Regions from separate parts of the Homo sapiens genome. Here all the other regions are linked to region 1. The links are contacts of gene promoters, found by promoter capture Hi-C in human tissues and cell types (Jung and others, 2019). All regions are on one chromosome and are shown on one strand. The core of a region is centred on a gene start or on the middle of the fragment in contact, and the rest is flanking DNA. Distances in the headings are between cores, read along the strand shown.

Region 1 (3,006 bases), core at 197-2,696:
TCCAGCCTGGGTGACAGAGGGAGACTCCATCTCAAAAAAAACAACAACAACAACAAAAAAACCACGCACCACCACTGGGAATTAAGAGGGCTAAAAGGAGAGAGACCTGGTCCTCCCTTCAGGGAGCTATGAGTCTAGTGGAAACAACTGAACAATACAATGGCTACAAGCCAAGAAAGACATGACAAGCGCCTGGGGGAAAGCTAGAGGTCTTCCAAGCCTCTATCCTGCCACAGATGAAACAAGCATCTCACACGAGATTAAAAACTTTCACCCAGACCATCTGCCAAGTTCCCAAGATGCTCTGATCCGCCCCTAGATGTATTCCAGCTGCCCCCAAACGCCTGGTCCTCCTACAGCTTATCCCAGTCTAGACACCACGGCCCCACTTCCAACTGTCCCCATAAGTTCCATCAGAAACCTCATCAGGGGATCTGTGGCTAGCTCATGGGAAACTTTCCCAAGCAGGAAACCAATGCTTTCGCCTCCACTTCAACACCAGGGGCACGAGGGACCCCATCAGGAGCAGGAATAAAGTAAGTACATGTTTTTAAAAAGAATTAACAAAGCATCACAAGTTGCGGCTATCCTGTCTGCTAGCGAGGCCATGTTTGCCAGGGTCTCAGCCACCTCCAGGCCTCACCTGCAGAAGGCATCTCCGGCTCGTATCACCACAACGGGCTGCGCTTCCTTGCACTTCACACACTTCTGCTCACGGCTTTGGAGATGGGAGGGGGGAGAAGAGAGAAACACAGATCACATCTTCCCCACGCCTAGTGGGCTTTGGGGAGACAGCTCCTGTTTCTCACCCTGAGTTGGGTCAGAGAAAGGCACCTCGGTACACACACAAACCCAGGCTTGTGTTCTGTCCAAACTTCAAGAAAAACAAAGGCTCTGGGGGGATGTTTAGCCTAGAAAAGCCGGCTCAGGGGGCACATAAAGGCCGCTTTTCAGTCTCCCAAGGCTGACACGGGGAGGCGAGACAGCTTCACGGCACCAGTTCTCTCCGAATAAGGACAGCACTGTCAGCGGCAGAGCCGTCCCCAGTGGCTGCTAGGATGAGAGGCGCGAGCCAGTGGAGTAAGTCCCCTTCTAGGTGGCCGTCACCGCTTGACAGGCATTCCCCGAGTGCTAGGGAGCGAGGTCCCGCTCTCCACGCGGGGCTTCCCGGAGCAAGCCCGGCCGGGACCCTTCGGGGCAGGAGTGCGGCGGGAAGGCGAGGGGCGGCCTGGCGGGTCCGGCCGCCAGCTCTTACCTGGGCCGCGGCGCCGGGGGCGGCTCCTCAGGCGCCGGCTCCCCGTAGTCCTCGCCCACCTGACACATGGGCACGCCGGGTCCCGTCGCAGACTGTGGCGGCGACAGCGCGAGGGCGCGCCCCGATGACGTCGGAGTGGCGCCGTGACGGCCGCGAAGCCCGGCTGGGGGCGGCGCCCTACGATGACGTCAGCGCGGCGCAGTAGCGGCTGTGACTAGCGGGCCGGCCCGGGCCAGGACAGCGGGCGGCGGGCGGCGCGGGCCTGGCCCCGGGATGGCTATGTTCCGCAGCCTGGTGGCCTCGGCTCAGCAGCGGCAGCCGCCGGCCGGGCCGGCGGGCGGCGACAGCGGCCTGGAGGCGCAGTACACCTGCCCCATCTGCCTGGAGGTCTATCACCGGCCCGTGGCCATCGGCAGCTGCGGCCACACGTGAGCGCGCCCGCCCAGGGGCCGCGGGGAGGGGGCCGTGCCCCGCCGCGGGAGGGGTCGCGAGGCCGGCGGCCGCCCCGGTGCAGCTCCGGACTGGGCGCGCGGGGACTCGGGGCGCCGGGGCCTCGGGGCGCGTGGGGTCCGGGTTTCCCTGTGCCGCGCCGCCTCTGCCCTCTGGGCGCGTTCATCCCCCGCCCAGCCTCCTTCGCGCCAGCCGCAGGCGCCCGGTCCGACTGCTGCTTCGGTTCACCGGGCGACCTGCGGCCCTGCCCAAGCTCGGGGTCCCCGGCGGCTGCGGCGGGCGCTCCGGTACTCAGAGGGCAGCAGGTGCCACCGCTCCGCCAGTGGTGGTGGATTTGGGCTTGTGCGGCTGGAATGGGCAGTTGTAAATAAATAACTTGTAGTTTTTGCTATCAACTCTTGTTCGGACCCGCTGTCTGCCTGTTTTGACTACAGAGGAAAGGAGTTCCCTAAAGTTTAGAGGGGCTTGTTTGGAGTCTGATGTTCTTAGTTTTGTTTGAAGGAGAACTTGAGTCACACCGATCACTGAGTAGCCAGGCAGGCTGGTCCACAGAGGAGCAGACACTGACCACCTTGCTGGGGTTTCCAGCTGCACCAGGGCTCACAGCCGGCTCCTCCAGGGTGTTTCAGGAACAGAAACTGGAGGACGTGGCTCTCCTGGCGGGGAGCTGTGCTCAAGTATTCTGGAGCTGCCAGCCCCGTTGGGAGGAAGCCTAGATCAGTGTCTGCTCCCTCCTAAGTGCTGAATAATACAGCTCTTGAGCAAAATCAGCAGTGGCAGGGGAGAGAGAGAGCAGGAGGGCTTCCCCGCAGACATCCAAGCTGCTGAGGTGGTGGAGTGGAGGGGGGTGCACCCAGACTGGTAGGAGGCTCTAGAACATTTTGCAAGCAAAGTCAGCTGACTTCAGGGGCTCCTGGTACAGAGGGAGCTGGGACTGCTAGGTGGATGTGTGCTGGTCACCCACGGAGGTGGCAGGGCCAGTGTCAGGATGCAGAGCTGCCTTCATTACCTGTGTCAGGCAGCACAGGCGCCTGCCCACGCTGGGACAGCTCTACCTACTTCTCTTGTGAGGCTGCTACAGGCTCTGCCCCTGCTCCTCCATCTCACTTAGCCGTGACATTTTGGGGGGGCAGCCTCTGAACGGGAATATTTTTTTTTGAGACAGAGTCTTGCTCTTGTCACCCAGCCTGGAGTGCAGTGGCGCCATCTCGGCTCACCGCAACCTCCATCTCCTGGGTTCAAGTGATCCTCCTGCCTCAGCCTCCAGAGTAGCTGGGATTACAGGCACCCGCCACCACGCC
Region 2 (3,206 bases), core at 692-3,191, 1.0 Mb before region 1:
AAGTAGTTTACACTGCCGAGTCCAGTGGCTCATGTTGGCAGTCCCAGCACCCTGGGAGGCTGAGGTGAGAGGCTCACTTGAGCGCACAGGGCTGCAGTCAGCCATGATCGTGCCAGGGCACCCCAGCCTAGGCAACAACATGAGACCCTGTCGCTAACTGCCCTTCTCTTTAAAGAGTGCATTGAGGCCGGCGCGGTGGCTCACGCCTGTAATCCCAGCACTTTGGCAGGCTGAGGCGGGCGGATCATGAGGTCAGGAGTTCGAGACCAGTGTGGCCAACGTGGGAGAAATCCCATCTCTACTAAAAATACAAAAATTAGCCAGGTATGGTGGCACATGCCTGTAATCCCAGCTACTCAGGAGGCTGAGGCAGGAGAATCACTTGAACTCGGGAGGCGGAGGTTGCAGTGAGCCAAGATCGTGCCACTGCACTCCAGTCTGGGCAACAGAGCAAGACTCCATCTCAGAAACAAGACAAAAACGCACTGAGAAGAACTGTTGACTTCGCACAGGCTGCGCCTTCTCTCCCTGTCCCTAATAACTGGTTTTCATGACCTAGCCACATGTCCCCCTCACCTGCCCTGCCTGCCTGGATTGGGTGGCCCCTTGTTTGTGAGTGGCTGGCCATGCCGTTCCCACAATGACCACTCACCTCCTCAGCACAGGAGGCTTCAGAGCACCCGCAGTCTCTGTGCCCTCGTGTTTGGGACGGGAATCTTTGCGGACCGGGTGGGCTGGGCTCAGGCCTCACTGCTGCCTGTCAGTTCTTTCCCCATGGGGGTGCAGGCCCTGGCCTTCCCCTCTGGCGGGAACCACTGACCCCTCATTAACACATCACAGAAGTCTCTTCTCATGCGCCCCCAGCTGAGGACACAGGCGGGCACGCCCGCTAGAACTCCAAGGTCAGGGTTGACAAGACTGGGAGGCAGCACACGGGCCGGGGGCTGTGCAGAGGCCCTTCTGGGTTCCCAGGGGGGTCTCACGGTGGCAGCTGGGGAACCAAGTGCCCCTGGTACTCGCCGCAGTCAGGAGGCCATGCTTGCTACCACCCAGTCCTGCCTCCTGCGCAGCGGTTTCCACTGAAGTCACCCCTTTTATTAGAGACCTCTGAAAACGTATCTCCCGTGTCTCTGTTCCAAAGCACGTCTTTGTCTGCACTCCTGGGGTCCCAGAGGGACTAGTGACACAGTCTGAGTGTGCTGTCCCTGTCACAGCAGCAGGGGCTCAGCAGAGAGGACCCTCCCCTCCTGAATCTGCCTCGATCCGGAAAAGGCTCGCCTGGCTCCTCCCATCCCAGCTCCCAGCCCTCCTCACACCAGCAGCCCCAGACCTTCTGGGCAGCAAGCCAGAGACACATTCTCAGGTGTCCTGGGATTCAGACTCAACCCGGAGGGTCACGGAGTGGGGGCTTCCGTACAGCAGCCTCAGGCGGCACTCCCAGCCATGACTCCTGGGAACAAGCCTGGGGGTAGGGACCCCCGGGCACCTTTTCTGGGCCTGACCAGTTTTCTGTTCATGCTGAAGCTGCTGCAGCCCCTCTGGCTCAGTCCTGCCCTCTGCTTCGCATCTCTCTCCGGGCCTCCTCCACTGCTCCCGTTTCTCTTTTCAGAACTTAACAGCATCAGAACTTCCATGAAAAAAGGCCGTTGACCTCTCAGTCTGCACAGCAGGGTTCTAGTGGCTGACGGTGGTGCTCAGAGCCACCTGCCCTCTGGACCTTTGTTCTGGGCTGTGAAATGCTCAAGGACAGGGACTGGGTCAGTCACCAACTACCTGGGAGTGTTCTGGGTACTGCTGGGTATAGGGCTGCAAAGAAAACAGCACAAGTGAAAACCAGCCCTCACTACCAGGGCCTGTGTTCTAACTGAAGAGAGAAAATAAAAATCCCTAAAAACAAAGTCAAAACAAGCTCACAGAAGTCATTCAACAGGGAAGTGGACCGTGGCTGCCTGGCCATGGACATCAGTGATGGGGTCAGAACTGGGAGGATGACAGAGCTGGGTCCTCGGGCCTCTGGGGACGCACACAAAGCAGAAGCGACGGGTTGGGGGCTTCGGGGGTACACTGGGGTGTGAACCCAGGGCAGGACCGGCAGAAGGGACGTAAGAGCCTCCTTCTCAAGCAAGGCGGGGTTCTGTCGACAGAGACACCTGCCATCCACTGCTGGGACTCTGAGGCAGCCTCACAGTGCCGAGACCAGGTCCCAGCTCCAAAGCACCAGGAGGACCCACCTTCTCACCTGCCCGCCTGCCCCTCCCCCGCCTCCCGCTCACTGAGGGAAGCCACGTTTCACTGGGCTCGGGAGATCCGCACACGAGAGAGTGAACTGAGTGGGCACCGGGGAGAGGCCCTGGAGCACAGGCGGGTGTCTAGGTCGCCCAACGGATGCCTCCAGCAGACCCCGGGCTGCCCACTTACTTCCTTTCTGGGTAAGGCTCAAAGGACTCGTCCGAAGACTGGGCATTTTGCTTCTTGTCATTTTCATCTTCACTCAAGACGTCTCTAGGAATTAAGAGAGAATCTTCAGCAAAGCCCTGGGCCTGGGCAGTGACAGACCCAACACGACCTCCTGCCTAAAGATACCAAATGGACCCCCATGTCCCACATTTGAGTTCTTCTGAAAATGTCTTAAATCTAAAATCCCCAAATTTCCAATCCCGTTTCCGAACACAAAGGGCCAGCCAGGCTCACAAGCCAGCAATCCCCACAAGCCATGTGCTCTGGGCACCAGGACACTGGACTTGGAAACAGCCCTTTCCACAGCGGCCCAGAAGGGGTGGAGGCGCTCAAAGGTAGCTTCCTGCTAAGCAGACTTTGAGAAATCGACCACCTCACCCCATAACTGCGAACCCTATGCAACTGATGGGTTTGCCATGAGTCACTTCTAAGTTCACAAAAGTGGCTGGGTGCAGAGGCTAACTCCTGTAATCCCAGCACTTTGGGAGGGTGACGTAGGTGGATCGCATGAGGTCAGGAGTTCAAGACCAGCCTGGCCAATACCGTGAAACCCCGTCTCTACTAAAAATACAAAAATTGGCCGGGTGCGGTGGCTAACACCTGTAATCCCAGCACTTTGGGAGGCAGAGGCGGGCGGATCACGAGGTCAGGAGATCAAGACCATCCCGGCTAACAAAGTGAAACCCCGTCTCTGCTAAAAATACAAAAAATTAGCCGGGCGTGGTGGCGGGTGCCTGTAGTCCCAGCGA
Region 3 (3,416 bases), core at 917-3,416, 1.2 Mb before region 1:
CAGCTACTCAGGAGGCTGAGGTGGGAGGATCACTTGAGCCAGGGGGGTGGAGGTTGCAGTGAGCCTAGATCATGCCAGTCCAGGCGACAGAGTAAGAGCCTGTCTCAAAAAAAAAATACAGAAAGGTCCCTGAGGCATTTGGGGCTTGTCCAAGCTTCCCACCTACTGCTTGCCTCCCTAACACTCTCTTTGAGGATCCCCCATTAATTTAGTTGCTGGCAGTCCACTTGAGTCGGGGACCTTGCTCCCCAAAGCACTGGGACACCCCAAATTTATGGTTCCAGGGAACCCACAACCACCAGCCCCTGTAAAGGAGGGGTGGAGAGAGTAACACATCTATGGGAAGTCCTCTGCAGAGCGAGGCACAGGGCAGCAGGAGCAATGGAGCAGAGTGGATTCAAGACCCAGCACGAGCACAGCTGTGGGCCAGGCGCGTGCCTCGCAGGACCTGTTTTCTCATCTGTGAGATGAACGTGTGAATGGTGCCCACATCCAGGCCTTAGCACAAAGCTTGACATGAAAACATTCAGCACATGTTGGCTTCATTTTGTTCAAATGTTTTAGATACTATTTAAAGTTTTAAAACCATATGCACAGGTCACTTAAAAAAAATGGACCAGAAGGATAGAAAAAGAAATTTGTTCCCACTTGGATAGAGAGAGGTGGCTAGATGGGCACCAGGTTTATCTGCAATATTTAAGGTTTTTTTTAACCAGGAGAATATATTAATTGCTTTTGTAGTTAAAATTAATAAAATTATAATTTGAGATAAAGTAATAAAATATATTGTTCCTTTTTTTTTTTTAGATAGGGTCTTGCTCTATTGCCCAGGCTAGAATGCAGGGGCATGACCTCAGCTCACTTTAACCTCTGCCCACCTCCCCCAGGTGATCCTCCCACCTCTGTCTCCCAAGTAGCTGGGACCACAGGCCGGCGTGCCTCCATGTCCAGCTAATTTTTTTTGTTTTTTATTTTTTGTAGGCACGGAGTCTTGCCATGTTGCCCAGGCTGGCCCTGAAGTGCTGACCTCAGGTGATCCACCCACCTCGGCCTCCCAAAGTGCTGGGATTACAGGTGTGAGCCACCGCACCTGGCCTATGTTACATATTTAATAAACAATAAAATATAATTTTATAAACTAAATTGTTAACATCACTACAGAAAAGGAAATCGGCCCGGCGTGGTGGCTCATGCCTGCAATCCCAGCACTTTGGGAGGCTGAGGCAGGTGAATCACCTGAGGTCAGGAGTTTGAGACCAGCCTGACCAAGATGGAGAAACCCCATCTCTAGTAAAAGTACAAAATAAGCCAGGTGTGGTGGCGGGCGCCTGTAATCCCAGCTACTCAGGAGGCTGAGGCAGGAGAATAGCTTGAACCCAGGAAGTGGAGGTTGCAATGAGCCGAGATCGCGCCACTGCACTCCAGCCTGGGCAACAAGAGCCAAACTCCATCTAAAAGAAAATAAGAAAAAAGGAAAATTGTGGCCAGGCGTGGTGGTGAGCGCCTGCGGTCCCAGCTACTCGGGAGGCCGAGGCTGCAGTGAGCCGAGATCGCGCCTCTGGACGCCAGCCCGGGCGACAGAGCCAGGCCTCCTCTCATAACCAAAAACAAAAACCTGGAAACACAAAGCAGAACCCGGCGTTCGAGGCCAGGCGCTCGGCCCGGGCGCTGTCCTTGGTGCTGACCTCGCGCAGCGCTTGGGGTCCTGGGGAAAGCGGGGCCGGGCTTTGAGGGCAGTGGCCAAGGCAGGTGGGAGCGGGGGTCCCCGATGAAGGGGCTGCGAGACTGGGGCCTCCAAGCCCCTCCAGGACCCGAATGCGGTTCCCGCCCGGCCCGCGGCTCCGCAGGTCTTTCAGGCGAGAGGGCGGGGCGAGCCAGGGACTCCGCCTCCCATTGGCTGAGACGGCCAGGCCCCGCCCCCAGCCCCGCCCCGCAGCCGCGAGGAGGCGGTGCCGCAGCCCGCGCGGAGGACAAAGGCTCCCCCCTCCGCCGCTGCAGGCGAACCCCGCCCCGGGGAGGGAGGAGCACAGGCCCCAGGAAAGCAAAGCCCGGGGGTCCAGATTCAGCTCTGCGGCAGTGGGGCAGCGTCCTGTGTCCCGCGGGCCCCGGTGTTTCTGCATAGCCCGGCCCGCCCCTGCCCCCCCCGGGGTGACTGCAGGCGGCCGCTCGGCTTTCCGGGCTTCGGGTTTTCTCATCCTCCCGGCGGGCTGCGCCCGGCTTACTGCATCCCCGCGAGCTGCCGGGGGCTCGGCTCCCAGCGCAGGGGTGACCGCGGTGAGTCGTCCGCGCTGCCGCGTGACCGCCCGGGACCCGGCTTTGCTCCCGGCCTCGAGTCACCCCGACTTCCCTCTGCCCAGAGTGCACGGGCCTTCCTGCCCAGCCAGGCACCGCCCGAGGACCCCAGACAGGGAAGCAGCCGCGTTGCACCCCCTATCAGCTGCGGGAGTGGAGGCCGAGAACGGCCAAGGAACTTCCCATTGATTCCACAAGGGCAGCAGAGCAAAGGAACACGCTCTTGCCGCCCCCGCCCCCGAGAAAATTTCCTTCTCTGTTGCTTTCATTGTTAAAAAGAATCAGATACTATTATTACTGTGAGACAGGATCTCACTCTATCGCCTAGTCTGGAGTACAGTGGTGCGGTCATAGTTCATTGCAGCCTCGACCTCCCACGCTGAAGCAATGCTCCCATCTCAGCCTCCCAGGTAGCTGGGACTACAGGCGCGGCCCACCACGCCAGGCTAATTTTTTTTTTTTTTTTTTTAAGAAACGGAGTTTCACCATGTTATCCCGGCTGGTCTTGAACTCCTTCGCTAAAGTGATCCTCCAGTTTCAGTCTCCCAAAGTGCTGGGATTACATGAGATTCCTCATCCACCGTGCCCGGCCAGGTATTAATTTTTAAAAAGAAATATATTAAGAAAAAACAAACAACTCAAAAGGAATAAAAAGTAGCGGGCAAACTAAGAGCTCCAGTGTTCAGAAGCAGAGCACAAGGCAGCCAAGGACACGGTCCAGGGGACAAGGGCTCCCTCTGCTACCCGTGGAGCCTCAGGGGATGTCTGCATGTGCACCTGACTTCTAGATCCCAGCTCTTGCCTGACAAGTGCCTTGTGGGACCACAGCTCTGGGCCCATCCCAGCCATAGAAGGAGAAACCCCAGGTGGGCCCCAGGGCTGCCTGCCCTCCCTCTCCCCAGAGACCCCTGACCCTCCCAGGAGCCCCAGGGCTGCCTGCCCTCCCTCCCCCCAGCGACCCCTGACCCTCCCAGGAGCAGATGCTCAGGGGAGGCTTGGCCCCAGTGACCACATTAATGAGCCCTCAGCCCCTCCCATCAGGCCAAGGCAGCTGTCAGAGGCTGCTCCGGGAGTCCTGGTTTGATTTGAGGCCACTGTCCCCCAGGTCTCCCCTCCCCCAGGCT

Evidence for each region. The method cuts DNA at HindIII sites, captures the fragments that hold promoters and counts their contacts. A contact is called where the count stands out against the background at its distance.
Region 2: a fragment that was not itself captured here is called in contact with the fragment with the promoter of RNF166 in region 1 in 1 of the 25 tissues and cell types used here (lymphoblastoid cells).
Region 3: a contact is called between a fragment that was not itself captured here and the fragment with the promoter of RNF166 in region 1, in 1 of the 25 tissues and cell types used here (lymphoblastoid cells).

Annotation. Positions count from the first base shown.
Region 1 is chr16:88,704,848-88,707,853 of GRCh38, reverse strand. It overlaps RNF166 (ring finger protein 166), which reads left to right and starts at 1,446. Exons shown (of 6, transcript NM_178841.4): 1 at 1,446-1,683. The coding sequence starts at 1,529. It overlaps CTU2 (cytosolic thiouridylase subunit 2), which reads right to left and starts at 1,351. Exons shown (of 15, transcript NM_001012759.3): 1 at 1,256-1,351; 2 at 644-718. The coding sequence starts at 1,323. RefSeq lists silencers at 1,083-1,392, 1,433-1,712 and an enhancer at 1,334-1,971. The HindIII fragment of the contact is 44,302 bases long and covers 1-3,006 here.
Region 2 is chr16:89,728,531-89,731,736 of GRCh38, reverse strand. It overlaps ZNF276 (zinc finger protein 276), which reads right to left. Exons shown (of 11, transcript NM_001113525.2): 6 at 2,419-2,502. Among named protein-coding and RNA genes, the nearest start is that of ZNF276, 8.6 kb to the right of the region's middle. RefSeq lists enhancers at 2,202-2,371, 2,509-3,080. The HindIII fragment of the contact is 6,200 bases long and covers 1-3,206 here.
Region 3 is chr16:89,924,773-89,928,188 of GRCh38, reverse strand. All of the region lies in intron 1 of TUBB3 (tubulin beta 3 class III), which reads right to left. Among named protein-coding and RNA genes, the nearest start is that of TUBB3, 3.1 kb to the right of the region's middle. RefSeq lists a silencer at 1,591-2,250 and an enhancer at 2,017-2,917. The HindIII fragment of the contact is 3,668 bases long and covers 333-3,416 here.